Linked DNA regions of Homo sapiens: regions 2, 3, 4, 5 and 6 are each linked to region 1. The links are contacts of gene promoters, found by promoter capture Hi-C in human tissues and cell types (Jung and others, 2019). All regions are on one chromosome and are shown on one strand. Each heading gives the region's core, a stretch centred on a gene start or on the middle of the fragment in contact. The rest is flanking DNA. Distances are from core to core; before and after follow the strand shown.

The links. Contacts are between HindIII fragments. The study calls those that stand out against the background at their distance.
Region 2: a fragment that was not itself captured here is called in contact with the fragment with the promoter of PLCB1 in region 1 in 5 of the 25 tissues and cell types used here (bladder, dorsolateral prefrontal cortex, lymphoblastoid cells and 2 more).
Region 3: a contact is called between a fragment that was not itself captured here and the fragment with the promoter of PLCB1 in region 1, in 4 of the 25 tissues and cell types used here (hippocampus, lymphoblastoid cells, mesenchymal stem cells and 1 more).
Region 4: a contact is called between a fragment that was not itself captured here and the fragment with the promoter of PLCB1 in region 1, in 1 of the 25 tissues and cell types used here (liver).
Region 5: a contact is called between a fragment that was not itself captured here and the fragment with the promoter of PLCB1 in region 1, in 5 of the 25 tissues and cell types used here (dorsolateral prefrontal cortex, heart left ventricle, mesenchymal stem cells and 2 more).
Region 6: a fragment that was not itself captured here is called in contact with the fragment with the promoter of PLCB1 in region 1 in 6 of the 25 tissues and cell types used here (adrenal gland, dorsolateral prefrontal cortex, heart left ventricle and 3 more).

The regions. Positions count from the first base shown.
Region 1 is chr20:8,129,864-8,134,640 of GRCh38, reverse strand. PLCB1 (phospholipase C beta 1) reads right to left here and starts at 2,375. Exons shown (of 32, transcript NM_015192.4): 1 at 1,891-2,375. The coding sequence starts at 1,989. RefSeq lists a silencer at 2,150-2,289. The HindIII fragment of the contact is 4,653 bases long and covers 382-4,777 here.
Region 2 is chr20:8,511,870-8,516,953 of GRCh38, reverse strand. All of the region lies in intron 3 of PLCB1 (phospholipase C beta 1), which reads right to left. LOC124900459 (a long non-coding RNA gene) reads right to left here. Exons shown (of 2, transcript XR_007067518.1): 2 at 4,449-5,084. Among named protein-coding and RNA genes, the nearest start is that of PLCB1-IT1, 270 kb to the right of the region's middle. The HindIII fragment of the contact is 4,959 bases long and covers 1-4,793 here.
Region 3 is chr20:8,551,780-8,556,379 of GRCh38, reverse strand. The region is part of intron 3 of PLCB1 (phospholipase C beta 1); the gene reads right to left. Among named protein-coding and RNA genes, the nearest start is that of RNU105B, 280 kb to the left of the region's middle. The HindIII fragment of the contact is 5,772 bases long and covers 1-4,577 here.
Region 4 is chr20:8,589,124-8,594,243 of GRCh38, reverse strand. All of the region lies in intron 3 of PLCB1 (phospholipase C beta 1), which reads right to left. LOC124904868 (a long non-coding RNA gene) reads left to right here. Exons shown (of 2, transcript XR_007067522.1): 2 at 3,451-3,726. Among named protein-coding and RNA genes, the nearest start is that of RNU105B, 240 kb to the left of the region's middle. The HindIII fragment of the contact is 5,443 bases long and covers 1-4,442 here.
Region 5 is chr20:8,618,060-8,622,984 of GRCh38, reverse strand. All of the region lies in intron 3 of PLCB1 (phospholipase C beta 1), which reads right to left. Among named protein-coding and RNA genes, the nearest start is that of RNU105B, 210 kb to the left of the region's middle. The HindIII fragment of the contact is 7,376 bases long and covers 1-4,925 here.
Region 6 is chr20:8,415,268-8,420,113 of GRCh38, reverse strand. All of the region lies in intron 3 of PLCB1 (phospholipase C beta 1), which reads right to left. The region is part of intron 1 of LOC124900459 (a long non-coding RNA gene); the gene reads right to left. Among named protein-coding and RNA genes, the nearest start is that of PLCB1-IT1, 170 kb to the right of the region's middle. The HindIII fragment of the contact is 3,341 bases long and covers 170-3,510 here.

The sequences.
Region 1 (4,777 bases), core at 1,126-3,625:
CGTAACAGCAGGGATTTTGTCTACTTTTTTCACCACCCCAGAATCCAGTCTAGGATTGGCAGTAATAGGTGAGCAAGAAATATGTGTTACAGAAATGCACATAATGAAAGTCATCTACCTGGATATACCAAAATGTGTTTTCATAGAATACTTTCATTCTCAATGTGATGTTGGCTATTCTCTCCCAAACAAGAAATTATAGAGAATTATTTAAAATACAGTTTAGAATCATCACTGTATACAAATCCAGAGCTTACGCTGAAACTCCCTTTTCTAAATTCTGCAAAGTCTCTTTCTCTTTCCTCTGCCCTTCACTCTCTTTCTCAGTAAATCCATCATCACATCACCTCTCTATTCAAGGATCTCAAAATGGGCAAGACCGTCTTGTTTATTGCTGAACTGCATTTTCTTTGTCTTTTTTTTCCCTGACACAAAGCATTTAATCTGCGTCTGAATTTATTGTTTAGATTCTATTCCATTTACAGAAACATTCAGTACAATTAGACTGGAACAGAAAGAAGAAAAGTGTGAAGCCCATGGTAAAAAGATGTATGTTTACATCCTTGCCTACAGCATTTAATAATTGGCACGAGCTTTCAAGGAAGCTGTGGTTCATACTCCAAGTTCCGTTTGCGCTTCCAGCTGGACAAAATATAGACACAGACGCACTCAGCTAAGTAATTGGATTCACTACCTGGAATATTTAAATTGTTTTCAGACACTGGAAAATGGCTTAAGAAGATTAAAGAAAAATACCCTAGAGGATAACAGGCTATAATTTACTAGGTGGAAAATCTTTTCGGCAAGAAGAACGCCTCATTCTCCTATAATTCCTTCTGATTAAGAGATGTATTAGTCATTTGGACTTAAATTTGCTTAGAGCCTGGCAACTCGGGTTTATTTCAGTAGGTTTTTCTTATCGAACCTTTAGAATGACACCCAGGACATAAAACTGATACCATAATGTTCTCCATCCGAAGATTCGCATGTTTTCAGCTGGATAACTAATTTACGTGTTTTGAAGACAACTGGGGTAGAGGGGAAGGGGAAGTCATTTGAAGTCCTGGGGTCTGGGCCGCTCGTAAAGCATTAGAGACCCCGGCGCTGGGCTAGGCTCTGCCCTACCTGGCAAACGGTGCAGGTAAATCGTGGGGCAAACTCTCAACCTGTCTATTTCAGGCAGAAGACTCCAATCAGCTCAGTTCTCAAAAGTCAGCCCTCCCCACTTGCCTGCAGGCCCATGAGCCCTCCAGGACCCCTCAAGGGCCCCCATTCTGTTCACGCCCTCCCCAGATGTGTCCCCGCAGCCCTTTTCAGGGACCCTCACTCCGGAGCCAGGCGCTGAAGTTTGGCATCAACGACCACCTGTTGGCTGGACCGTTGTGTCCTCCGCCGCCTTGGCTCCCACAAAAGCGCCAAGAGGGTTCGCAATCACTAAAGTGTTTTGAACTTCAGGTCCTTCCTTCTTGAAATCGGGCAAAAGAGGTAATAGGGGGTGCGTCCGCAGGCGGAGAGGGACGCGATTTGTTCACACCAGGCGCTTTCCAGTTGGTCCCAACTTCACACTCCCTACTTTCCGAACTCTCAGGACCTGTCACCAGGCAAAGCTTGCCCCTCCCTCTCCACTGGCCCAAAAGATGTAAGACCCTCAGGGGGCGCCTGCCAGACCCAGAAAGGATGGCAACTACTGAAGCCCGATGAAACAGGAGCGCGCGCAAAGCTTCTGCCCTTGGACATCCGCTTTGGCAGATGCCAACCTGTGCGCCCGAGGCTGCCCCTGCCCGCTCCCAGTGCGCCCATTGCATAACGCGCCCCTTGCCCCACCCCCACGACGCCCGCCCTGCCCGGTGCCCGAGCCAGCGCCCCGACTCGGGCCGCCCCAATACTTACATCATCCCACTTGACGAATTTGGTGCCCTTCTTGAGGCTGTCGGACACGCACACGGGCTTGAGTTGCAAGGCGTGCACTCCGGGTTGAGCCCCGGCCATCTGGGCTCATCTGGGCTCCGGGCGGCCCGGGCGAGCGCGGCAGGGACTGGGGACCGTGCGCGGGGCGCGGGGCGCGGGGCGCGGGCTCCTTTCTCTGCTCCGGAGGCGCTCGACTCTGCTCCCCGCCGGCCTCCCCGGCCTCCCGGCCTCCGCACCTCCCTCCGGCGCCGCTCAGCAGGCAGAGCGCGCGGGGGCGCAGCGCCCGGCCATGCCCCGGGCGGGACGCGAGGTCTGGAGCCCGCGGTGGATGAGGAGCCTCGGAAGGCGAAGAGAAGCCGAGCCGGTCAGCCGAGGCTGCCAGTCGCGGCGGATTCTGCTCCTCCGCCGCCGCCGCCTCAAAGCGCACCATTCAGCACATCCTCTATACACAGAGGGAGAGAGCGAGTGACACACGCCCGGCGCCCCCCCTAACCGCTCTTTTCCCTCCTCCCTCCTCCTCCCCCCCGCCCCCCTTCCCCGCCACCCTCGCTCGCTGGGTCCTTCCTTCCCCCCGCGGCTCCCAGCCCAACTTTGCACGCTGGGTCAGGCGCCAGGAAGCGGGGACGCAGCGGCACCTCCTGGCTCCCGAGCCCCATTGCAGCCAACGCCTGCCTCCCGCATTCGCTCTGAGCATGCCCCGTGCCCTGGTTGCAGAGGTGCTAGGGGTCCCCAGGAGCCTTACGCTCTTTGGGGTTTTCTTGGGAATTTGGGCTCGAGCTCCGGAGCGTCTTTGGATCCCAACTGGCTGGGAAAAGGGGCCCATCGGGAGGAACCAAAGAGGCAACCCCTGGCTTTTGGCTCTAGCTGGAGCTCTCCAGCGCCAGCCACAAACCAGCTTTTTGAAGAGAATTATCATTTATCAGCAGAGAAGAGCGCAGTTGAGAGGCTCTTTGAGGAAACCTGGCCGCGCCTGAGAGTTTGCAGCGCGCTGATCTTGAAACCCGGGCAAACGGTTACGTTGTGCTTTCGAGACAGAAAGCCCATCCTAAAGAAAGCAAAGGTTTTATTTTCCGAGGAAGAAAGAGGGTGCCCTCTCCCGCTCCTCTCCTTGAGTGTGTAGGATGTGTGGCGGGTGGGGGAGAGTCTTATTAATAGAAACTTGCTCATTTAGGAACATAGGTCCAGGAATGTTTGTCTTCACTCCTTCCACAAACATTTCTCAATTCAAGAAAGAAAGGGAGGGAGGGAGGGAAGAAGGGAAAGAGGAGGACCAGAATGGATAAAATTTTAAAGACTGGTAATACCAAATGCTTGAAAGGATGTGGAGCAACTGGAACTCTTTTTTTTTTTTTATTAAGGAGAGAGAGGAGAGGGAGAGAGAGAGTGAGTGAGTGTGAGAGAGAGAAAGAGAGAGAGAGAGAGACACACGCGGGAGGTGGGGGGGCGGAGAGAGAAATAGCTTGGAACTCTTGTTCATTGCTGGAGGGAATATAAAATAGTAAAACCACTTTGGAGAATAGTTTCTTATAAAGTAAGATATTTACTTATCATACAACCTAGAAATTCCACTCCTAAGTATTTGTCCAAAAGAAATGAAAACGTTCAAGTCTGCAGGGACTTGTAAAGTGATGTGAAGAACTTTCTTCTTAGTAGCCTGCAAATGTCAATCAACAGGTGAATGGATAAACAAACTGTGGTATGCCCAAATATTGGAATACTATTCCACAATAAAAATGAGTGGGCATGCAAGATCAGGGATGAATCGCGACTTTAAGCTTTGTAAAAGAAGCCGGACACGATAGACTGTATGCTGCCTGATTCCATGTGTAGGAATTGCAGAATAGGCAAGATATTCTATGTTGACAGAAAGCTTGCCTGTGGCCAGGGATAGGTAGAGATGGACAGGGAAGGGCTACGAGCACCTGATGAGCATGTCGGAAATGTTCTATATCGTGTGTGTGTTTATCAAAACTTGTAAGTTCTGTAAGTACGCCTAAATTGAGTGCAGTTTGTTTTAAATAAATTATATCTCAAAAAGGTTGATTTTTAAAAAGAAGAAAGAATACGAAGAGAGAAAAATGGAGAGAAACACTACATTCTCTTAATCCTTCATTCTCCCTGTTCTCTGCCCTCAGGACTCCAAGGCCCAATGCTTATGAACTCAGTCAAAAGATTACCAAAATCCAATACAGAAATTTGCTATTAAATATTTCAATGCATTTAAAATATACTTATTGGTAGCCAGCTGTATACTAGCCACTATTGTAATCACCATGGATAACCTGGTGAACAAGACCCATGACTCTTGCTGTCATTTGAGGGTCTTGCCTTGTGCTTGGAAGCCAATTGCTACAAAGAATTTCATGAAAAACTGACTGGTTTCATTTTGATCACATGTCCCTAAACTAAAACCTGAATGGTCCACAGTCCCTCTAGCCAGCAGCCTTGGCTTGCTAATTACCTCACAGAAGGTATCAGTCACCGTCTCAAGTCGATTTTCTCTACTTCAGAGTACTGCAATGAAACTCTGCTTCCAGGGCTCCAGAACTTCTCAATTGTCCTTACAACTGATCATACCAAATTGTTTTCCTTTCCTTTCCTTTCCTTTCCTTTCCTCCTTTCCTTTCCTTTCTTTTCCTTTTCTCCTTCTATCTCTTTGTTATTTACTGGAAAGATTATTGGCCAAATAGTTTTTACCTGTCACAGTGGCTTAGGAAGGCAAGACAGGGCTGCGCTCACTAGAAGAGGAGATTGGAGAGTTACAATGAGCTCTAAGCAAAATAAGAAGTAGATTGAGCCTCCTGTGGTAGTTTATTGCATCATAGCTCTCTGCTCCCTGCTCCTTTCTGCGTCCACACATTTTTCTTTG
Region 2 (5,084 bases), core at 1,065-3,564, 380 kb before region 1:
TATTGAGCATCTTACTTATTTGTCTGTAAACACTCTAAGAACTGTAAAGCCTGGAACTGTGTTGTACTTAGCTGCACAGCCGTAACAAAGGGCACATAGGAAATCTTTGATGGATGGTTTTCTTGTTGAGTGAATACCCTTTTCACCTTGACCATGACTCAACTATATCTATCTTGCCGAAAACTTTAGTCAAAAACTCTTACAGGTGACTGACTAGTAGTATATAGCATCAAAATGGAATACATATATATATATATATATATATATATATATATATATATATATATATGATGTTATATTTTCTATAAAAACCTTAGATTCTAAAAGAAACCATGCAATTCCAATGTTTGTAATTTGGCTAAATAAGACTGTGGCTATTTAGCATGTTATGAAAATAAACTCAGAGACTTTCAACATTATTGTACTTACATGTATAAAAGGGAAACTATCTCTGATAGAGTAGGTTGTTGTTCTGAAATGATCACTCATTTCTGTTCACTTCCATAGGAGATGACACTTCTCTGCTCCATTTATGTTGATCTTGGCCATGTGACTTGCTTTGGCCTCATTGTGGGCAAAATTAACACAAGTTGAGCTTAACTATGTAACTGGCTTTGGCCAGAGTAATATTATCAGAAGCAATGAAGCGGAGGCTTGAAATGTGCTGTCATGGTTGAATGTGTTCTCATGTGCTTGGGTCACTGCCAGGAGGACCTGGGCTCAGAGGGGACATGTGAGATGATGATACGGTTTGGCTGTGTCCCAGACCAAGTCTTTCTAGAATTGTAGCTCCCATAATTCCCACGTGTTGTGGGAGGGGCTTGATGGGAAGTAACTGAATCAGGGGGGAGGGTCTTTCCTGTGCCATTTTCATGTTAGTGAACAAGTCTCACAAGAGCTGATGGTTTTACAATGGGAAGTTCCCCTCCTTACGCCCCCTTGCCTGTTGCCATGTAAGATGTGACTTTGCTCTTCCTTTGCCTTCTGCCATGAGTGTGAGGCCTCCCCAGCCATGTAGAATCCATTAAACCTTTTTCCTTTATAAATTACCCATTCTTGGGTATGTCTTTATTAGCAGCATGAGAACAGACTAATAAAGACACTGTGTAACAGAGCCACCTTAACTAACCTGCCCAGCTGAGCCAAATCTAGATAAGCACTCCCAGCTGTCCCAAATGCAATGATAGACAGTTTTTAGCTGAAGCCACTATGCTTTGGGGTGTTTGTTATGCATTGATGTTAAATGTGCACATTTCTTATATGAACTTTTCTTTATATTGTGCCTCCCTCAAAGCCATGCACAACCAGACAATAAATTATTTCTGATCAAGGCACTAAACAAGGAAATGACCCAGATTGTGGGAAGTAGAGATTGGGAAGGAGGTTCTAATTAGCTGCTCTCTGAGCTAGGAATACAAATTTCTAGATACACCAGGCATCAGTTTGAATAATTGTATGGGATATAGGAAAGCAGCCTCATAGAAAAGCCTGCATACACTAACACACGCTCACAGCATCTATGTGATAGGAGGAAAGCTTCAGGAAAGGTAAATGATTAGGGTGGAAATTTTTAATAATTGTATGCAACCTGAGTATATTTAGAGCCATAATTATAAATGTAATTTACTGTAATGGTGTCTTCATGCTAACAACTATTAGTTTAATAAAACTGCTGTTATAATGAAGCAGATGCTATTACTGAAACAGCTCTATAATTGAAGGGCTATTATAGCCAGTTTAGAACAGAAACAGTAAATAAGTGGTAGTGGGAAGCTCTTCCTCCAGGGCTGAATATATTGAAAATTCAGACACTTTCCATACAGCAATACTTTGTGCCTTGATTTTAACATTTTACCTTCTATGTTTTTGTTTGTTCCTTTGTTTTTGTTTTTTGTCTTCCTGTCATAAGCTAATCAATGTTAGTGGGCCCAAGTCCACTTTAATCTAAGACCTTATTACTCAAAGAGTAGTGTGTAGGCCAGTAGCATTACTATCACCTGGGTACTTATTGGAAACTCAGAATCTTAGCCTAACCCCTGAACTCCTGGAGATGAATATTAGTTTTAACAAAATCCTCAGGTGATTTGTATGACTATTAAAGTTTCAGAAGCATTGGTCTTAGATATTCACTTGGAAAAATTACTTTACATGAACCAAAAATAATAATATAAGAATATTCACCCATACATACATACAAGATATATCATGAAACTAGCAAAAAGATACTGTTTTTGTTTTAACTTTTAGCCACAATTTTCTTTGTTAGGGTAGAAAAAGTACTAAAAGAGAAATGAAACGGCTTTACTCTATGGGGCACAGTATTGTTTAGGGATTGGGTTTCTTGCTTTATTACGGTAGATAATCTGTTTTCTTCTCAGCCTCTGAGTAGCTGGGACTACAGGTGCACACCACCATGCCTTGCTAATTTTTTTTTGTATTTTTCTGTAGAGATGGAGTTTTGCCATGTTGCCCAGGCTGGTTTCTTTTTTCCTTTTTTTTTTTTTTTTTGGAGATGGAGTCTCGCTCTGTTGCCCAGCGCAGGCTGGAGTGTAGTGGCCTAATCTCAGCTCACTACAACCTCCGCCTCCCAGGTTCAAGTGATTCCACTGCCTCAGCCTCCCGAGTAGCTGGGACTACAGGCTCACGCCACCACGCCTGGCTAATTTTTCTATTTTTAGTAGAGACAGGGTTTCGCCGTGTTGCCCAGGTTGGTCTCGAACTCCTGAGCTCAGGCAATCTGCCCACCTCGGCCTACCAAAAGTGCTAGAATTACAGGCGTGAGCCACCATGCCCGGCCCACCCAGGCTGGTTTCAAACTCCTGGGATCAAGCAATCTGCCCACTCTGGCCTCCCTAAGTGTGTAATTACATCTTTTTTCTTCTTAATGACAGGTTTAAAATACTTTTTCTTCTTCTTCTTTTTTGATTTTTTTGAGACAGGGACTGTGTTGTCCAGGCTGGAATGGGGTGGCATGATCTTGGCTCACTGCAGCCTCAACCTGCTGGGGCAAGCCATCTTCCCACCTTAGCCTCCTGGTAGCTGGGACTACAGGCACACACCACCATGCCCAGCTAATTTTTTGTTGTTATTTTTAACTTTTTTTTTAATAGAGACAGAGGTCTTACTATTTTGCCCAGGCTGGTCTTGAACTCCTGAGCTCAAGCGATCTTTCTGCCTTGGCCTCCCAAAGTGCTGGGATTACAAGCATGAGCCACTGCACCTGACCACTTTTGTTTCTTTTAGTTCTGGTAGCGTTTTATCATTTCACTGAAAGCATGTTTGTCCTATCCTCATGCAGTAGATTTTAGAAAACACTACCATATTTCAGTGATATCTCATAGCAACTGGCAGGGGGGACAGAATTCTTACAATACTTCAATGGGGATGTTTCTCTCTTGGCTTCAGCACCTGCAGTATAGGTATTCGTTCCGAATTATCCAATATATTCTAGCACACTTCGTGCATTTAATTGAATATAATTGTTTATACTGTAAAAATAATGTAATTTGTCTTATTGCAACTTTACCATGAAAACAGTGTTCACTGTGTCGTGTTGTCACTTCATAGATTGCTTTTGCTGTGTGTGAATGAATGAGTGTGTGTGTGCCCTTCATTACTGCATAACACATGTACATCCAGGGGCTCTAATACTGACTGCATAGCTTAGTGAATTTCTTCACATCTATATCCCTGTGTGGCCTCCACAAAGATTAAAGAATATGTCCAACACTACTGAAAGTTTCTTGTCTCTTGTCTTTGATCAACTTTGCTTGTTCTTGAACTTTATAAAAAATGGAATCACACAGTACTTGTTTGTGTCTAGATTTATGTATTGAAACCTTTGGTTTAAACATTTTAAAAAAATGAAGCCATTATACTAAGTAAAATAAGCCAGGCACAGAAGGACAAATATTACATGATCTCATTTATATGTGGAATCTAAAAATTCGAACTCGTAGAGGTAGGAAGTAGAATGGTAGCTACCAGACGTTGGGAGAGGGTGGGAGGTAAAAGGGGAGATGATGGTCAAAGGGTACAAAGTTTCCATTAGACAAGAGGAATAATTCCTGGTGATCCATTAAACATTAGGTGACTAGAGTTAATAATAACGTATAGTTCAAAATTGCTAAGAGAATGAATTTGAAATGTTTGTACCACAAAGAAATGATAAGTACGTGAGGTAATGGATATATTAGTCGGATTTACTCCTTCCACAATGTATACATGTATCAAATTGCTCCCCATATTGTACATTGGGGTACAATTTGTATTATGAGGGTACAGATTGTACCCAATGTACAATATGGGGTAAAATTTGATATATGTATACATTGCACCCCATAAATGCACCCCATAAATGTATATAATTATTATTTATCAATTAAAAAAACAAAGCCACAATGTTTTTTATTGTTTAAAAAAAGGAAAGAGATTTTGACATCACAGAATTTCTCCAAGAATCTAAAACAGTTTATTTTAGAAATATTCTGAATAACTTTTGGGAGGTTTATATTACAAAATGTTAATTCCTCCCTCATACACAGAAAGTAAAGAGAATTAGGCTATTTTGTAACATGAGTTTTAAAAATATGTGAAATACATGAAAATTACTTAAGAATTGTAAATATAGCACCTATGCCTAAATCCCGAGTTTTGGTATTGGAATATTGCCTTATTTAAAGCTTGTTTACACAGATTTTTCCATAAAATTTTACAGGATTTCAATGAATCAGAACGTACTAAAAGTGATGACTGTGCACTTAACTTTATAGATTTACGAATAAAACTACATCATTGTTTTAATGCGAAAAGAATGAATAGCTTAATCCCCAATCCAATAAATGTTTCACTACCAGTTTGGCAGTTTTTCAATCATAATGACTGAAACTTTGGAACCCAAAAGCTTTTCCTGCTTGTGTTTAAAATAATGATCATACAGGTGGTAACGTGCGACTGTCCATTTCTGTGCTGAAGAGACAACCCAGAGCGAGAGAAAATATTTGCAAACCACACATCTGATAAGGAGTGAATATCCAAAATATATAAGGAACTCAAACAATCTTATAGCAGAAAACAAAGAATCG
Region 3 (4,600 bases), core at 442-2,941, 420 kb before region 1:
AGTGGCAGAGGCTTGTTCATTTACCTTTCTATGTTTTGGAGGAATGTCCTCTACATGGCTGCTTTTCTGCCCTAAGAGAGTTCCAAGTTAGGTAAAACGAAGGCAAGTACTTTTAGGGACTCTTCAGGTCAAAACAGACAAACACAATTCTTTGGTAATAAGGTCTGCTCTGCTCCTTCCAGAATCAGGTACCCATAGAGAGAATGTGGCCGCCATCTTTCCTACTGCTGCCATGCTGAGGAGGGTGTTAGCCAGGATGGGAAATATATATAAATTCTAAGACTAACTTAGATGTTTTGATTATTACTGGATAAATCTTTGGTCAAGCAAAGATGGGCTTCCCAACACATCAACAGACATTCAGAGTCACTTATTAAATTTCACTTCATTAAAAAAAATCATTTCTGACTAAGTGTCTCTTTCATGTAATTTGTCAAGTCTAAAACGATTTTAAAATTTGTCTCAAAATGATATGCTTACATTTTGTGGAATAGAAAAAATTGATTCCATCTTTATTGATAAGAATTTTCTAAGTTGTCAATGACTGATTATTTGGGGCAGACATGGAAATTATAGTCTATTCTCCTCCAAGTCAAGCAATTTTCAGATGTTTTGATGAAGCCCTGACAAACAAATAGCTCCTGTAATATTTATGATAAGAGCACATGCCATATTCTACTCTGACATACACAGTTGGCTTTACCTTATCATTAACACAAAATATTTCCACTTGATTTTAATTTGTCACATTTGAATGTAACACTTAATAAGAGAGGTAGATATTTATAGGAAATACATGGAGATAGATGACCTTTCCAGGGAAGACTTAAGACCAAACAGGAAGTAGAAAGTGTGTTTTCAGAAGTGCTTAAATCATAACAATCGAAGCCCCATCCCATGTTGAGTGAGGTGCAGCATTTCAGGTAGTGGTGGATGGCCTCAGTCTATGAGTTTGTGTTTTCTTCTTGCTTCTGAATTGTATGATATGATGGAGGAAGAGGAGTGTAGGTGGAGAGTGTGTATCTACTTTTTGTTAGAAACACCTCTTTCACTTCAAAGCTCCTATCATTGACTTAGTATCATGATCCATTGCCTACCTTGCCTTTTGAAACCCATTCAACCCTATTAAGGATACAGAGTTAAGAATATGAGGGTTGGTGGTGAAGTCAGCAAAAACAGCAGAGTAGGGAGCCCCAAGGGCCCATTTCTCCACGAAAACACTGATAAAACCAGCAAAAATTATCAAACTCAACTCTGTCAGAACTCTGAAAAATAGACAAAGGCTTAAGGCAACCAAGCAAATGCCAAGTCAAGAAAAAAGTGACTAACATGATAGGAGAGATTTGTGACATTTTAACTTAAGATTCCCTTCCTCCCAAAAAAATCTTTATTTTATTTTATTTTATTTTTAAGTTTCTAACATGAAGGGAGAATCTTCAGTTTTTTGGAGCATTTTCTTAAATGCAAAAGTACACGTCCCAGTAATTTCACACAAATAAGATTTTGTCATACACTGAATTTGAATTTAGCTCCTGAGTTAACGTAGAACAGCAACAGGTGATACTAATATTATTAAGCAAGAACTCAGAAGCTGGGCAATTTTTTTATGTTAACAGCATTTTATTGAGGTATAATTTATATACAAATAATGCAAATCATAAACATATGGATCAATGCAATTTGGCAAGTGTATATGACCATGCAATCATCATCCAGGCTAAGGTATAATACACTTCCTCTCTCTGGAATGTTCTCCTTTCCAATCAGTCCTCTTGTACTCTACAATCAGCTACTATTCTGGTTTCTATCACTGCAGAATATTTCCTTGTCTTTAAACTTAATATAAATGGAAGTGTAGAGTATGGTCCATTTTGTGTCTCTTCAGCTCTCTTCAAAAACACTATAATTTTGAGATTCATCACTAGACTGAATGCATTAGCAATTCATTTTTATTTATAGCTGAGTAGTATTCCATTATGTGATTATACCGCAATGTGTTTATTCATTTACCAGTTGGTGGAAATTTGGGTTGTTTCCAGTTTGGGGTTTTTATGAATAAAGGGGCTATAAGCATTCTTTTACAAGTTGTTATATGGATATATGTTTCATCTCTTTTGGGTAAATACCTAGGAATGGAATTGTTAGGCCATAGGAGAGGTAAGTACATATTTAACTTTATTAGAAACTGCCAGAGAGTTTTCCAAAGTAGTTGTACCATTTTATATCACCCCTGTATGAGAGTTTCAGCTATTCTACAATCTTGCCAACACCTGGCCTTACTACTGTTTTTTTTTTTTCCTTAATTTTAGCAATTTTAGTGAATGTATAGTGGTGTAATGACTTTTGTGGAGTTAAACAGCAGTTTTGCTGTTGTTTTTGAGATGGAGTCTTGCTCTGTTGCCCAGGCTGGAGAACAGTAGTGCAATCTCGGCTCACTGCAACCTCTGCTTGCTAGGTTCAAATGATTATTCTGCCTCAGCCTCCCAAGTAGCTGGGACTACAGGCATGTACCACCATGCCCAGCTAATTGTTTTGATTTTTAGTAGAGACAGGGTTTCACCACGTTGGCTAGGATGGTCTTGAACCCCTGATTTCAAGTGATCCACCCGCCTCAGCCTCCCAAAGTGCTAGGATTACAGGAATGTGCCAGCGTGACAAGCTAAACAGCAGTTTTATTAAGGCTCCTAATGATAATGTTTTTCTGTATTCATTTGCTTGAATTTTCCTTTACTTGATTTTTCAGTCTTAAAAGTTTCCACACCTCAAATGCTGTCAGCAGTTACAGATAAGAATAAAAGATTTAAAAATAACTTTCACTGTGTATGTGTACAAATACGAGCAACAGGAACATACAAGAAAAGTTGTATGCTTACATAATAAGAATCTATTTTTAAAAAATAAAGAGCTCTTCCAAAACTGAGAAGTTGGTGTATTTTAAAACAAGATTTCTGGGCACCAAATGCTCACTTTATTTCAAGAAACGATTCCACCTTGAACTTGGAGCTGTGTTGATATCATTTACTGACACTTGCTGACTGAAATCTTTGGCACTCCACTAAAACTTCAATAGCAAATCTAAATAGTGAGAAACTGTATCTATATCCTGCCTTGCAATAGCAGAAACCAAAAGGAACCCTGAAATTGCCTTTTCACACTTGCAAGAGTGTGCCTTTTGAATTTTATGATTATTGTGTCATGAGAAACTATAAAACACATGCAGGTTATAAAATCACCCTTATTCTGGTAACTGATTTATCTGTGGCCCATGCTTTGGCATTTGCAACAAAATTCAACTTATAAATCTTCAGCCCTGTTCTTTATAATGCAGCGATGGATGTAAATCGGACTGTTTTCAAGCATCATCAAATATATCAAAGATACAGCTCAGGAATAGCTATATTTGGACACATGCTGCTTGTTCACCCAATCAAGTTTATCCCAAATTCTCAATAACTCCCTGAGGTGATTAACACATATTCACCATGAAATCAGCCTGAAAAAGCTTTTCGAGATATAAAACTTACCACCTGGATGGGCAGCTGGGAGCACAGGGCCAGGCAGTAAATGTCTGATGTCTAGGGGTCTAAACATGGGTAGTGAGTCTGGCATCCAGCATGGGGCCTAGAATTTAATCCACAAAACATATCTGGGCCAAGCAGCAAGTATCTACTATAAAATGTATCTGTGTGTGTATGTATGTGTGACTTTTGGTTCCATATTTCATTTCTTATGAATATTTTGAATCCAGAAAAAAAGCAGAGCCAAGAATATAAGTATAATATCAGAGAAGTGCAATCCATTGTACACTAGCAGGCATTTTATTGTTTACAAATACATATGGCTATTGTATAAGAAACACTCTATTTGTTTCAAATGGAAATGCTCGCAGTTTCCCAGAAGTTCATCATCAAGTATTGATTGTTCTGTCCTCTCTTCCTTCTCCTGTCTCTTTCATCCATCCACTTCCCTGCAAATCTACCACGGTGCAACTGGACATGGAGCTGAAGGATTTCATGCAGAGAAATACTAAAGACTGAGTTAAAAGAACATAACTTCAAGGTCTTCTCTATACTGTCCAAGGAAAAGCTGTACGTTACATCTGGGTCTGGTGGGCACCACATTAAACATAAATAATATTTAAAATATTTAATAATTCACATAGCAAGCACACCAATCATTCAAACAGTTGGTGCCCATAGCATTTAATGAGGGTCTTAGAAGCCCCTGTTGTGGCAAGTAATAAACTTTAGTTGTTGAATCATGGGAAGGAATGGATGACCATGAAGTGGTCATGACCACTGCAGAGTTGGGAGAAGTAGCTATTTGCAAACAAGCATAAAAGCACTCAATATTTTAACAACTAGTAACACATAACAGTCTTACACAAGCCTGGATTTAAGCCTCAAATCTCATTGTAACCACAGCCTTTTGTGAAAACCATGACCTTCTCTCTCAGGTTGCATTTCTCCTTGAAGCAGACCCTTTTACAGAAATCCAAAGGCATTCCCTTTTGCAGAAAAAATTTAAGCCTGAGACAAGAGTTCTAGAGAAATAGTTTATTTGGGAGGTGATCAGAGAAAATACGGGTAGAAGAGTGGGA
Region 4 (5,120 bases), core at 472-2,971, 460 kb before region 1:
AAACAGAAGCTATAAACTGATGTCCTAAAATAACATGGATCTGGGCTAGGCATGAGGGTTCATGCCTGTAGTCCTAGCACTTCGGGAGGTTGAGGTGGAGGATTGCTTGAGGCCAGAAGTATTGCTTGAGGCAGGGTGTTCAAGACCAGCGTGGGCAATATAGCAAGACCCTGTCTATAACAAAAAATTAAATTAACTGGGAATGGTGGTGCACAGCTCTACTCTCAGCTACTTAGGAGGCTGAGGGTGGAGGATCACTTGAGCCCAGGAGGTTGAGGCTGCAGTGAGCTATGTTTGTACCACTGCATTCTAGCCTGGGTAACAGAGCAAGATTCTGCCTCTAAAATAAAATAAAATAACACAGATTTGGGCTTAAATGTCAGGGCTGTGTCTTTGCAGAAAGTAAGCCTCAGTTTCCTCCTGATAATAGAATCTTCCCCGAAAAAATGTCACAAAACATGCAAGGCAAAGTCCATAAAATTCCTGGTATATAAAATGATACATTCTTAGTTATCAAAATTAGTATTGCAAAATTACTATCACTGTTACTTATAAAGACACCTCCCTCACCCCATTAAAAAAATAAAAATAAAAAATCTAATAAAAACAAAAGTAAAATGCCAATAACAGTAATGTTTATTTTCAGTAGAAACAATGTCAGATTATCATTGGTATTATACTAAGGACTTCAAAAATTTATAATTTTCATTTTGTGGGCAAAAATGTAACTGGGAATAAAAGCCTACATGGGGCTGGGTGTGGTGGCTCACACTTGTAATCCCAGCACTTTGAGAGACTAAGTCAGGAGAATTGCTTGAAGCCAGGAGTTGAAGGCCAGCCTGGGAAACAGAGCAAGACCCTGTCTTCACACATACACACACACACACACACGCGCACACACAAATTAGATGGGCATGGTGGCTTGTGCAGGTAGTCCTGGCTACTTGGGAGACTGAAGCAGAAGGATCGCTTGAACCTGGGAGGTTGAGGCTGCAGTGAGCCATGATCTTGCCACTGCAGTCCAGCCTGGGTGACGGAGCAAGACTCTGTCTCTTAAAAACTAAGTATGCGTGTAAGATATGGGGGGCAGGGCCTGTGAGTGAGAGAGTTGGGGCAAAAGATGGGGAAAGGCCTGGGCTATACTACTTACTCAGCAGGCAAAAATATCTGGGCTTGGAATCAGATGAATCTAGGCTCAACCCTGGCTGTGTGATAGAAAATCCTGGAAGCTTTAAAAAATGAGGGGCCTGGATCCCACCCTCAGAGATTCTGATTAACTGGACTGGGTGCAGCCTGGGTTTCCGGAATCTCATGAGCTGCTCAGGGGGCCCTAATGTGCAGCCAGCATTGAGAATGGCCACTGCAGGGCCTTCCCTGCAGCATCACTGTGATGTTTAAATCAGATAATATATGGTGGGCATTTAACATAGAGTCTTGGCCCTCAGTGTAACTGCTAGATTAAAAACAGAAATACAAATTGAGCATCCTGAATCCAAAACTCCAAAATCTGAATGCTTCAAAATCTGAAACTTTTTGAGTGATGATGTGATGCCACAGTGGAAAATTCCACTCCTGATCACATGTGACGAGTCACCGTCAAAATGCAGGTGCACAACACACAGTTTATTCGGCTTCTCCAAGGGGAAAAAAAGACCCTCTCAGGCCCCTTCAGTTGCAATATATATTTTCTGCCCTTATCCAGACTCCCTCCTGTAAGCATTGCCCAGAACAATTAATAAAATGGCACGTATGCTGGCCAGAAATGCCAACAATAGGTTCCCCATGATGTCCCACATGAAGCCAAGACCTGCATGCATTACTTTTTGCTTATTCTCTGCTCTGTAAAGATATTGTTGAAAATGTCAAAAAGGCCTACAGATACCTCTATGGGTAATAGTGATAAAATACAAGTAATCTGGTGATGCTACTTTGCTGCTTAGTTATCCTGAACACATTATTTTTTTTACTGTATTAATGGTTTGTCAATTTTTTTACTAGGTACTTAGGTGTGAATAAGTGTAAGAAGATGATTGCTCATCAGTAACATATAAATTCAGAGACAGGGATGATAGTGGTCAAAGATTGGCCACATGGGCTTGAGATAGTGTAGTGACACATTTGCTTTCTGATTGTTTAATGTACAAAACCTTTATTTCATGCACAAAACTATTTAAAATAGTGTATAAAATTACCTTCAGGCTACATGTATAAGGTGTATATGGAACATAAGTGAATTTCTTGTTTGGGCTTGGGTTCCATCCTCCGAGATATCTCACGATGTATATGCAAGTATTCCAAAACCTGAAAACATTTGAAATTCAAAACACTTCTGGTCCTGAGCATTTCAGATATGGGATACCCAAGCTGTACCGGTTATTGTTACTGTAATATTTGGGATGGCCAGCAAGTTACATGTAATGAAATATGTTTCTCAGTCACCCCCCAAAATATACAAAGAGCTATGTATAATACTGATATCTGTCCCTGGAAGGTATACAATCTGAAGCAAAGACAGGGGAAAAAAGTGCTTAACAACAAATGCTTCTCAGGTGGAAATTCCCACGTGGCCCCTACAGTGCAAAGCATATCAATTGCAAGTCTCAAAAAATAACGTCTCTTAAGTGCCCTGGGTGTGAATACAGTTTACTGACACCTTTGCTCCGTACCCACAGCTGGACATTCTACTTGGGCAAGCACTGAATTTATACTGAATTTAAATTGTACCATAGGAAGTCAGTTTTCCTTTACCTTAGCTTCTAAATTGGAATCTTACCAAACTGAGTTAGATGAAAAATAAAGCTCTTTGATTCTTTATGTTCTTTAGTGTTGCAGGACACACAGAAGTTTTTTTGGCTTCTTTTGCTTATTATCTACTTTGTGCTTATTATCTACTTTGTCTCCCTGGTGATTAAGTAAACCCATGTGGTAGGCAGAATAATGGCTCCCCAAAGTTGTCTATGTCTTAATCCTGGAAACCTGTGGATGTGTTAGGTTACATGGCAAGTGAGTATTAAGGTTGAAGATGAAATTAAGCATGCTAGCAGCTGATCTTATACACCATGGAATACTATGCAGCCATAAAAAGGAACAAGATCATGTCCTTTGCAGGGACATGGATGGAGCTGGAAGCCATTATCCTCAGCAAACTAACGCAGGAACAGAAAACCAAACGCCTCATGTTCTCGCTTATAAGTGGGAGCTGAACAATGAGAACACATGGACACAGGGAGGGGAACAACACACTGGGGCCTGTTGGAAGGTCGGGGAGGGGGAGGGAGAACATTAGGAAACATAGCTAATGCATGCTGGGCTTAATACCTAGGTGATGGGTTGATAGGTGCAGCAAATGACCATGGCACATGTTTACCTATGTAACAAACCTGCACGTCCTGCACATGGACCCCAGAACTTAAAAAAAAAATTAAAGTAGGATTATTCTGGATTATCCAGGTAGGCCTAATGGAATCAAGAGGGCCCTTTAGAGTGGAAGAGGGAATTTGAAGAAAGAACCAGAGACATGTCAGCATGAGAAGGACTCAGCCTAATCTTGCTGCCTTTGAAGTTGGAGGAAGGGGTCTATGAAGCTGGAAAAGGTGAGGAAACAGATTTTCCCCCAGGGCCTCCAGGAAGAAATGCACCTGCTGGCACCTTGATCTTAGCCAAGTAACCTCTACGTCAGACTTCTGACCTATAAAACTGTAAAATAATAAATGTGTGTTGTTTTAAGTCACTGAGTTTGTGGTAATTTGTCACAGCAGCAATAGAAATAGCAACAACAACAACAAAAAAAAACTACCAAAGAGCAAAGAAAAAGGTGACATCGATTTTATATTTTAAGGAACTAAATTTATTGTATAAATAATTAAATTTCCATAAAAGGAGCTAAAATTAACCCAACTGATATTTCTTATATATTTTACATTCATATAATGAGATGAAAATAAAGCAGGATTAATTCCCAACATACGACTTCCGAATTTGTCATAGGTACATTGTGCTGGGAATTTCCTTGGCACTCTCTGGACAAAAAACAAACAGGAATTCTTCAAGGATGTCTCAGTTGAGTCATTCCCAGGCTCCTACCAGGCCCTTTCAAAGTTCCGTGTTCAGGCTTCCTTTTCTCTACATTTATTATATTATTGAAACCATCAGTTTAAGTGGGACTACAATGAACTGAATGTTTATGTCCCCACCCGAAATTCATATTTTGAAATTCTAACCACCAAAGTGATGATATTAGGAGGAGGGGCCTTGGGGAGCTGATTAGGTCATAAGGGTAGAGCCTTGATGAATGGGATTAGTACCCTTGTAAAAGAGACCACAAGGGCCAGCTGTGGTGGCTCATGCCTGTAATCCCTGCCCTTTGGGAGGCTGAGGTGGGAGGATCACTTGAGGCCAAGAGTTTGAGACCAACCTAAGCAACATAATGAGACTTCTCATCCTTACAAAAAAATTAAAATATTAGCCTGGCATGGTGGCACACATCTGTAGCCCCAGTCACTTGGAAGGCTGAGGTGGGAGGATTGCTTGAGCCCAGAAGGTTGAGGCTGCATGAGCTGTGATTGCATCATTGCACTCCAGTCTGGGTGACAGAGCAAGACTCTGTCTCAAAAAAAAAAAAAAAAAAAAAAAAGAGAGAGATTGACCCCAGAGAGAGCCTTCACCCCTTCCACCATGTGAGGACACAATAAGAAGATGGTCTTCTGTCTACGAACCAGGAAGTGGGCTCTCATCAGACCCCAAATCTGCTGGCACCTTGATCTTAGACTTCCCAGCCTCTAGTACTGTAAGAAATAAATTTGTGTTGTTTGTAAGCCACCCAATCTACAGTAATTTGTTATACCAGCCCAAACAGATTAAGACAGGGACCATCTCCCCACAAGATGCTGAATTTTTCAAAGGCAAGGACTGTCTAATTCTCCACATGCTACTAGAGTGTAAATTCCAAAGGTAGAATATGAGTCTGTTTTGGTCACCGATGTAACTCAGTCACCTAGAACTGTGCCCAGTGTTCAATTATTGGTTGAATGAAGGAGTGAGTTTCAAAACATTGTTCATGTCTTCGTTCTGTCTACCCTGATAAAATGAGAGAAGTGCACAACTAAGCCCAAAGACAAAAC
Region 5 (4,925 bases), core at 1,324-3,823, 490 kb before region 1:
AGAAAATTGGGCTCAGAATGTGGAGAGACAGCTTCAGAGCTGGGAAAATGCTGCTATTACCTATTTCAAAAAGTTGCATTGCCTGAGCTATTAGGTTGGTGCAAAAGTAATGGCAAAACCCCAATTACTTTTGCACCAATCTAATAGTTTCCCAGGTTGCAATACACATGCTTGGCAGACAGGATCTTTGTCTGGATGCCCCAGAAGCTGACCCAATCAAAGATCTGAGGACAAGTAATTTATTTTGGAGATGATTGCAGAAAGCACAGTGAGGAGTGGGGAAGTAAGACAAGGAGGGAAGAAGGTCTTTAAAGACTGTGTTAATTTAGCGGTTTACCATTTTGGGCAACTGAGGCTCAAAACACTAGTGCCATTTGGAGACAGAATGAAGAACACATCTTAGGATGTCCCTAAGTAGCCTGGAAACTGCAGCATTTATCTGTTCAGTCTCATCCATCACTGGTGGACAGTCATTCCTGGTGTGCTCTCTTGCATTTCCATAGCCGGAAAACATTCTTAGGACTATATGGGAACTCTCTTTAGGTAACCTCTGTGAGTGAGCCAATAGAATATCAATGGATTGAATACACCTGTTACAACATTAAAGAAGTGATTATAGGAAATAAGGAAATGTTATCTCAATATTGATTAATCTTCATGTATTCTATGGGATCTATAATTGAAAGAATTTCATCAGATAGGCTACTAAGATTCTTTTTTTTTTTTTTTCCTGAGGCAGAGTCTTGCTCTGTCACCAGGCTGGAATGCAGTGGCGTGATCTTGGCTCACTGCAACCTCTTCCTCCCTGGTTCAAGCGATTCTCCTGCCTCAGCCTCCCGAGTAGCTGGGACTACAGGCACGCGCCACCAACCACCCCCTAAATTTGTATTTTGAGTAGAGACGGTTTCACCATGTTGGCTAGGGTGGTCTCCATCTCTTGACCTCGTGATCCGCCTGCCTCGGCCTCCCAAAGTGCTGACTCTGTTCAGTTCTCTATAAAAATGATACATATAACAACAAGTTCTTCTAATTAGTGACTGTGTCAACTACCACACCAGCTGTTCTGTATCTTCTTCCACCTATTTAATCTGCAAACTAACACAGAGAAATAGCTATTGTTATTCCAATTTCACATGAGGTGCTGAAAGATGAAGTAATTTGCTCAGTTTTATAAAATGGTGTAAAGGGAGATTTGAATCCAAGTACACCTGATGGTAAACTCTAAGCCCTCTCCATATCACACCGTGTTACAAAGTATATCCAATTTGATGCAGTTTATATAAAATAGTGCAAATAGTTCAATTGGCAGAATAAAACTTAAATAGCACTCATTCAAGTTACCTTGTTTAGCGATATTTTAGGCAGTTTGTTAAAAATATAAAATAATGCATATGAGAAATCAAAATAGGAAAGAAAGGTGGTCTCATGGAAGTGCTTGCCTTCCTAGCAAAGAGTCGAAGCTAAATGGTCAATTTTAATCATTATTTGTACAATCATCCTTGCTGAAAATAAAAGTGCATGAACTATAGCAATTTGAAAACTAGTCAATGGAAAAAGTAGTTAGCTTTTTCCTCCTCATTGAGTCAGTATTTGTCAAACTTAAAAATTCTAAAGTATAGACAACTTTTCAGCCATGTTTTAAACTATCCCCCCAGTCTTTTTGACATATGCTACCACCTGTCTGCCAGCAAAATTTGTATGCACAGCCCTTACCACTGCAATGCATAAAAAATCCACATGCCCTGAGGGGTAATGGTGTGTGCAAAGCAGACAATTAGGATCCTATGTGCCTTCCTGTTTAAACCCCCGACAAAGCATGAAAAGCATTATATTCCCCTCAACTTTCATCCAAGGTCAATGCTTCTAGCTATCATAATGACGCCTGTTTGTTAATAGAATGCACAGACACTTTTACAATGAGTCCGCAGCATCTCCCTAGTTGATGAGTTCTTTATTGGTGAGATTTAAGTTTTCCTATTTTGTAATGATATCTACTTCCTTCCATGGTACTGTGCTATAGTTAGATGTGTCAAAGGGGCTTCTAAAACCTCAGAGCATAATTTAAAATCAAACATATCAAAAAAGGAGGATGACAATTTATTAATAATGACAAACACGATGTTCCCTTTGTTAAGAAAATCCATCATCTATGCTGTGAGCTTTTGACACATGGAGGAAAACAGCAGACAGCCTGTATTCTGTTTCTTTTCTTTTCTTTTTTTTTTTTTTTTTTTTTTGGTGGGGGCAGGGGACAGAGTTTCTCTGTCACCCAGGCTGGAGTGCAGTGGTGCAATCTGAGTTCACTGCAGCCTCTACCTCCTGGGCTCATGCGATTCTTAGGCCTCAGCCCCCAAATAGCTGGGACCACAGGTGCACACCACCAGACCTGGCTAATTTTTGTATTTTTAGTAGAGTTGAGTTTTTGCTATGTTGGCCAGGCTGGTCTCAAACTCCTGGCCTCAAGTGATCTGTCCATCTCTGCCTCCCAGAATGCTAGGATTGCAAGTGTGAGCCACCGTGCCCAGCCAGACAGCCTGCATTCTGTCTGGCTTTGAGTTCCGGCTCTGTCGTTTGAAGAAATGTGAACTTAAAAAATTTTGTTAATCATTCTGTGCCTCAGTTTTCCAAACTGTGGGATGAGGATAATAGTAGTGTCCCCTTAAAAAGGTTATTATGGGAAATAAATGAATCATTATATGTTAAGGGCTGAGAGCCGCACATAACAAGTTGTGAGTACTTGAAAAAAAATTAATAGCTGGTAGTATACTTAAAATAAGTAATCAATCATGTCAGTCACCACAAAAATATATTAATTCTTTATGTACATGTGACACATTAGAGTTTGCAGATTTGATTTTGATCACCACACTAATGCTGTAAGGTGACCAGGCATTGCTATTATCATCCACCTTGAGGGAAAACTAAGTTGAAGCTCAGGGAATACAAGTTGCCTAATTTTCAAAGCTAGTTAAATGGAAGAACCAGACACTGAAAAGTTCTACAAATGAAAATGAAACACAATATGGGGGGAACATACTGAATACTTTAATCTCTTATAGAGACAAGAACATTTTAGTATATGTATGTATATCCATTTACTTACTTTGAGATTTGTCGATCAGTATGTATATTTGTGTGCACATTTAGGAATATATTCATGGTTTGTGTATACTTGACTACCTATATTCTAAACATTTGCACTTTAATTTTGTTTTTCCCTTAATTCATTTTTCCATGGGAAGCTTAATTTAAAGAGTGCTAAAGGACAAGTCATTTCTAGATCTTTTCAGTTCCTGGTTCTTCCATTTAACTAGCTTTGTAAATTAGGCAACTCATATTCTCAAAGCTTTAACAATGATAATAGCAATGTCTGTTCACCTTATATCATTAGTGTGGTGATCAAAATTAAATCCTCAAACTCTAATGTATCACATGTACATAAAGAATTAATACATTTTTGTGGAGTCTGACATGATTACTTATTTTAAGAATGCTATGAAAAAATGCAGTGAAATAAATGTTAGCTTATACTTATCTTTTTCTTTTTTTCTTTTTTTTTTTCTTTTTAGACAGAGTCTTGCTCTGTCGCCCAGGCTGGAGTGCCGTGGTGCAATCTTGGCTCACTGCAACCTCCGCCTCCCGGATTCAAGCAATTCTCCTGCCTCAGCCTCCTGAGTAGCTGGGATTACAGGCACATGCCACCACGCCCGGCTAATTTTTGTATTTTTAGTAGAGACGGGGTTTCACCATGTTGGTCAGGCTGGTCTCAAACTCCTGACCTCATGATCCATCTGCCTCAGCTTCCCAGGCATGAGCCACCGCACCCGGCCTCTTTTTCTTCTTAAAATTATAAATGATTGTAGGAGTTAAAAGGAGCGAGAAAATTTCCCACCAGTTCACTACAGGTAACTGAAGGAGTTTGAAGTAAATGGGTAATTTATCTATAAAGCTAAATATAGATGTGAATACGTATTTGCTGAAAGTTATAAAAATATTCTAAGAGTAAATACTATTTGATTTTCAGATTTATTTCCTTTGTTTTATTTATATACCTTTTGTGTTACTCTAGATACACATGGGTTAACTATATTCTATAATACATAAAAATCAATAATATACCATCAGAAACACAGGGATATAAAGATCTTAACAATTCAAAGCCTTGATAAGGTTTGATGTCTACTTTTATAAGGAATAACTAGTTGCATTTAAATAAGCCCCGTCTTCAATATGCCTTTGTGTGTGTGTGTGTGCTTCTTTTGAGGTGAAAGTAAGAAAATGTCTTCTAAAATGCCTTACTATTGATCCATCAAAACACATTATACATGAAGACCAAAGTTGTCATCTCTAAGACCTCAATTTTCAATAAGAAAAAAATTGTCTTGTGAGTTATGTGATTGTGTCTATTGTTAGTTATGTTATATGATTGTAAAAGCTATCACCAGAATTGTTAGTGCAATTCTAACTTTTTTTTTTTCCTTTTTGTGGAAAATGGGGTCTCACTGTGTTGCTCAGGCAGGGCTTGAACCACTGGGCTCAAGCTATCTTCCCACCTCTGCCTGCCTAAGGTGTTGGGATTACAGGTGTGACACACTGCACCCAGCCAGTACAATTCTAAATAGGGAATAGAAAGGAAATTTAAGGAGTGTAAAGCTCTCTTAATTTTAAAAAAATTTTACAAAAAAGCAGTAAATATTCCCAGGACATTAGTCACTTCTTTTAGTTGTTGGCCTGCACTGATTAATTTTTAGGCAATTATTTTTTCCTTTTGTTCTCAAATCTCGTTCACTTTTTTCACATTTTTCTCTTCATCTCCCTCTTCACAGCCATCATTTCTCTCCCCAACCAATATTTTCCCAGAGGATTTTTAAAATCCTTTGAAAACTGGGAAGTCAAGTGTTCTTGCATCTTCCTAAGAAGATATT
Region 6 (4,846 bases), core at 591-3,090, 290 kb before region 1:
TTTCTCTGTTGTAAAAGTTATAATATGTATTGGAAGTATCCTCACAGCTATCAAGAATCAGCTCCATTAATCAGAATTGCTGCTGTGACCTTAATGAATAATGGAACTTAGGCATATTTCTAATAGGCAAATCCCCTTGTAATAATTTCAGATACAAACTGCTGCTGCTATAGATATTTGAGGACTAAAATCAAGGACAGTCACAAACCCACCACAACATTAAGTCTAGTATAGTTATCTTAAAAAAATTCAAACTTTATAAGAAGATTGGATGTATAAACATTTAAGTTACAAACAAAGTATGCTTTTGAACAGCTGGTTCCATTTCCTGCCATTGCCTCCATGTAAAATCACTATAATAAAAATGCTTCTCTACTTATGTTGGGGCTATGTTCCGATAAACCCATTGTAAGTTGAAAATATTATAAATCAAAATGCATTTATTATACCTAATCTTCTGAGCATCGTATCTTAGTCTGGCCCACCTTAAACATGCTCAGAACACTTACATTAGCCTACAGTTGGGGAGAATTATCTAACACAAAGCCTATTTTATAGTGAAATGTGAATATCTCTCGCAACTTATTGAATACTGTGCTGAAAGTGAAAAGTAGAATCATTGTATGGGTATTTGAAATACAGTTTTTATTGAATGTGTTTCACTTTCCAGCCACTGTAAAATTAAAAAAAATCATAACACAAACCATTGTAAATTCTGGAACCATATATAATCATTAACATTTTTGGATGCTGTTTATTGGTCTGTCCTCGGCTAGTGGCTAAAGACACATTTCTGAAAATATAAGCAGAGTCAGTAAAAAGACTATTCCCATAACAAATGTAAATCCCCTATAAAAGTATTATAAAAGCTGTTAAGCACTCTACAAAGTTCAGAGTCACATGTTTAATTTTCTACACCAAAGACAAGTAAACTTCCATTTTTAACAAATTAAGTAAACAAAGCTTTTAAATCCAGACATCTTATAAACAATCATTACTTACTAACATCAGTGTCAATATTTTAATTTAACATCTTTAATTTTCCACATGATCAGGAACGCTTACATGATCATTAGCTGCAATAATGATGTGAAAATTACATTAATGAGCTTTGGTGAAAACATCCAGGAAATATTTTATATAGACTGAGTTTTAAAAATGGTTCTCTTGGGACTGTAAGAAACCTCAGCTGTTGCCCTCTCCCCTCTGTGTAGGCAGACAATGAAATGGGGTATCAGAAGCATTGGAGAAGAGGGATCATTTCACCCAGTAGAACCAATCTTACTCTAGGATAGTTGGGTTAGAGTCAACAAAGTCATCTGTGTGTTTCAGCCAACCCATGCCTCTAGAGTTTAGTGCTTTAAGAAAATTAGACTACCATTAAATAAGTCCATAAATTCATGGACAAAGGAATTATCCTCATATAAATGTAAATATTTTGATTTTTTATTACAATATAATTTTTCAAAACCCAAATGATCATCTCTGAAAAAATACATAAAATACATAAAAATATATAAGTAATTTATATTAAATGAATAATTTGATAAAGAATAAGAAGGAAAGCTTTTAGAAGGTACTCCATCAGTAGATAAGGGACTGCCATTTTACTCACAACAAATTTCGATAAAATAAAAATTTATGTATAATTGTATATTCATTTCCTAGGCCTGTTTAGGACAAATCTGCATGTTCTGAAGATATTCAAGCACAGAACACATCGCCCAGTGAGTGATGGTGGAGGTGGCCTGAAGGTTGGGCTGGTGCTAGGATTGAATGCAGCTGACACATGATCAGGGAGGCAGAGCCACTTAGAGTGACACAGAATCGGGGATTTTCAGAGCAATTCACTCTTACAAAACTGAGGGAACTGTTGAAGTCCACTGAAGATTGTTGCTGTTGCATCTACTTTTGGGACTTAACTGAACTGTAAATCAAGGTTGGCAGTTGGGAAAGAAAGCTGGACACAAAATGAGAGAGAGGGAGGACAAACTAGACCCTAACTCTGACTTTTACTACTTCCCACCTCAGCAATTCAGTTGGCCCACAGAAGATGCTGGTGATCTTCACCAGGGAACTGTCCTCAAGCCTTGGACTTTTAGAAGTTGAAGGAGGAAATCCAGCCAGAGGTAAAGGACTGCAGACAGCTGCCCTGTGCTAGCCAGGTGACCCAAGATCAGCAACATCCTGTGTGTAACACTTAGGAGTCCTCTTGTTTTCCCACAGATGGGACTGTAGGCTCATTTCAGTTTGCAAGAGGACATCCTGCTAGACTGAATTATTATTCACAAGTACAAGATGGACATTTGGTATCCAAGATGGTATTTGACGATTTTCTCTCTAAAGATTCTCTGCTCAGACATTCTGTCTCCTTACAAAGTACATGGGAGTCCATTGAGAACAGGAATAAAATAGCAAGTCAATTGGAGAATCTGATTAGAATTAGATTGTATATCATTTCATGGGCACTTTTATTATGACATGGCTCTGAAGTGTAGTCATTTGTTTGCCTGTATCTTGAGCTCCCCTAAAAGAGAGAACATGTTCTATTCAACATTGTAGTTGTAGTACAAGGCACTCGACCAATGCAAATATATGAATTTGCATGAATTCACTGATAGTAAATCAATGACACTGTTTTTACCTAGAACTAAAAAAAAAAAACCCTGAATTATTGGTACAACAGAGTCCTAGTGCTAAGATCAAATTTGATTTGTTATATACATATATATGTGTGTGTTATAAATGTGGGTGCGTATGTTATATATGTGTGTGTATACATAATATATACACACACCAGAGACAAAAAATATATAAGTGTATCATGGTGAAACCCTGTCTCCACTAAAAATACAAAAAATTAGCTGGGCATGGTGGTGGGCGCCTGTAGTCCCAGCTACTCAGGAGGCTGAAGCAGAAGAATGGCGTGAACCTGGGAGGCGGAGCTTGTGGTGAGCCGAGATTGCGCCACTGCACTCCAGCCTGGGCGACAGAGTGAGACTCCATCTCAAAAAAAAAAAAAAAAAAAAAAAAAAAAAAATATATATATATATATATATGTGTGTGTGTGTGTGTGTGTGTGTGTGTATACACATATATGTATTTAAAACTACATATATATGTGTTTACAGCTGAAGCGACTCTGTGTGTGTGTGTGTGTGTGTGTGTGTGTGTGTGTGTGTGTATTCTGTCTCTTCAACTGTAAAAGAGACACCATCAAGGACTATTTCCCAAAAGCACTATGCGTAGCATTCACATTCTTCCCTGCCATTTGCAACTATATCTTCTCTAATTTGCCAAGTACTCTTCAGTCAGGCTACCAGGATGATGCTCAGCTCTGTTTGCTTCATTTTCCTGAAAGAGTCTCTAAACAAAACCCTCACATTTCAAAACTTGGCTCAAATCCTTCCATCTCCAAGCAGGTCATTACTATACATGTTAAATCCCATGCTCTGTCTCACACATACCTCCTCCTCAATATCTACAGAATCTTTTACAAGCCCTACTCCTGTGACTGTACATAAACCATGCTCCCTTGCAAACTTACTTTTCCTGTTTAGGGGAATATATATTACCTTCCAAAGGGACAGTAAATTACTTAATGTTAGTGAGCATACCTTTGCACCCCCCGCAGCTAGTGTGACACATCTCTTTGATTTTCAAGGACAGCCTTCAGAATTTTGTTTTATTTAGAAATGACAATTTGATCATATGTAACTAAATCTAATTCAATGTAATATTTTTACATTAAAAAGACTTTTTCTATAAATAATTAGTCTTCTCTCCATCCAGAACTCACTGTGCTATGTATATACATAAGTTATTTTACATCACGCTTCAGATAATCATAAATAAATGCATACAAAGATCAGAAAAATCTCCCTTGTCAGACCAAGTTTTCTCATTATTTTGTTTCTAAAAAATATCATTCAAGTAGTCACAATACCTTGAATTTAGAAGTAACTCAACACACATGAGTCAAACAGAATTTCAAACAAATCACACCTGTGTTTTGGAGATTCCTTAACCTACAGGCTATTTTTAGTGTTCCCTAGGGGAGAGACAGAGTGAAAGAGCAAGTTTCAGAAAAAAGAAAGAAATATATAAACATTGATGAGGAAAGCTGCAGAAGAATACTGGCATGAGAGCAGGGAATAACCTCTGGGATCACTAAGTCCAAAGCCTCCTTTACACCCTGTGGCCAAGAGCAACAACCTACCTAAGGCAAACTGACCACTAGCAGACTTTTACCAGATTCATGGTGTTGCCCTGGATCTTGGTTTTCATTCCCCAGCAGACATTGATATTTTTCTGCCCCACATGAAGGGTAGGATCCCATTACATAAGCAATTCCTATTATGGTGTACAAGACCCTGTTGGTGTCCTACACCATGTCCACCATCTAAGGTGACTCCTGCAGCTTAGGTGCACAGTTCCCACACATGCTGATGTCTTCCTCCCTTACATGCCCAGCCTCTCAGATGGCCCCAAGAGGGGTTGAACCCCAGTTGTTCGTATCAGTGGCCCACTCATCCAAGTACACTTTAATGACCTTTCTCCTTTCTCTGCTTCACTCCCCCTACTCCACTCACTATGGTACCTGGGATCACTTTCAAATAATCCACCTGTATACAAGTGCTTTTCTCAGAGTCAGCTTTTGCAGGATTCCAAATTAAGACCTATGGAAAGGGGCCAAATGCAATAAATTGTCAACATCATTTTCTAGTTCGAACACTTATAATGTTTCCTTCCTTTAAACTTTTTAATGATAATTTTTTAATTCAGGTGTCAAGACTTCTTTTACTACAGAGAAATAAGGTACACATCCAGCTGCAACTAGAGATGC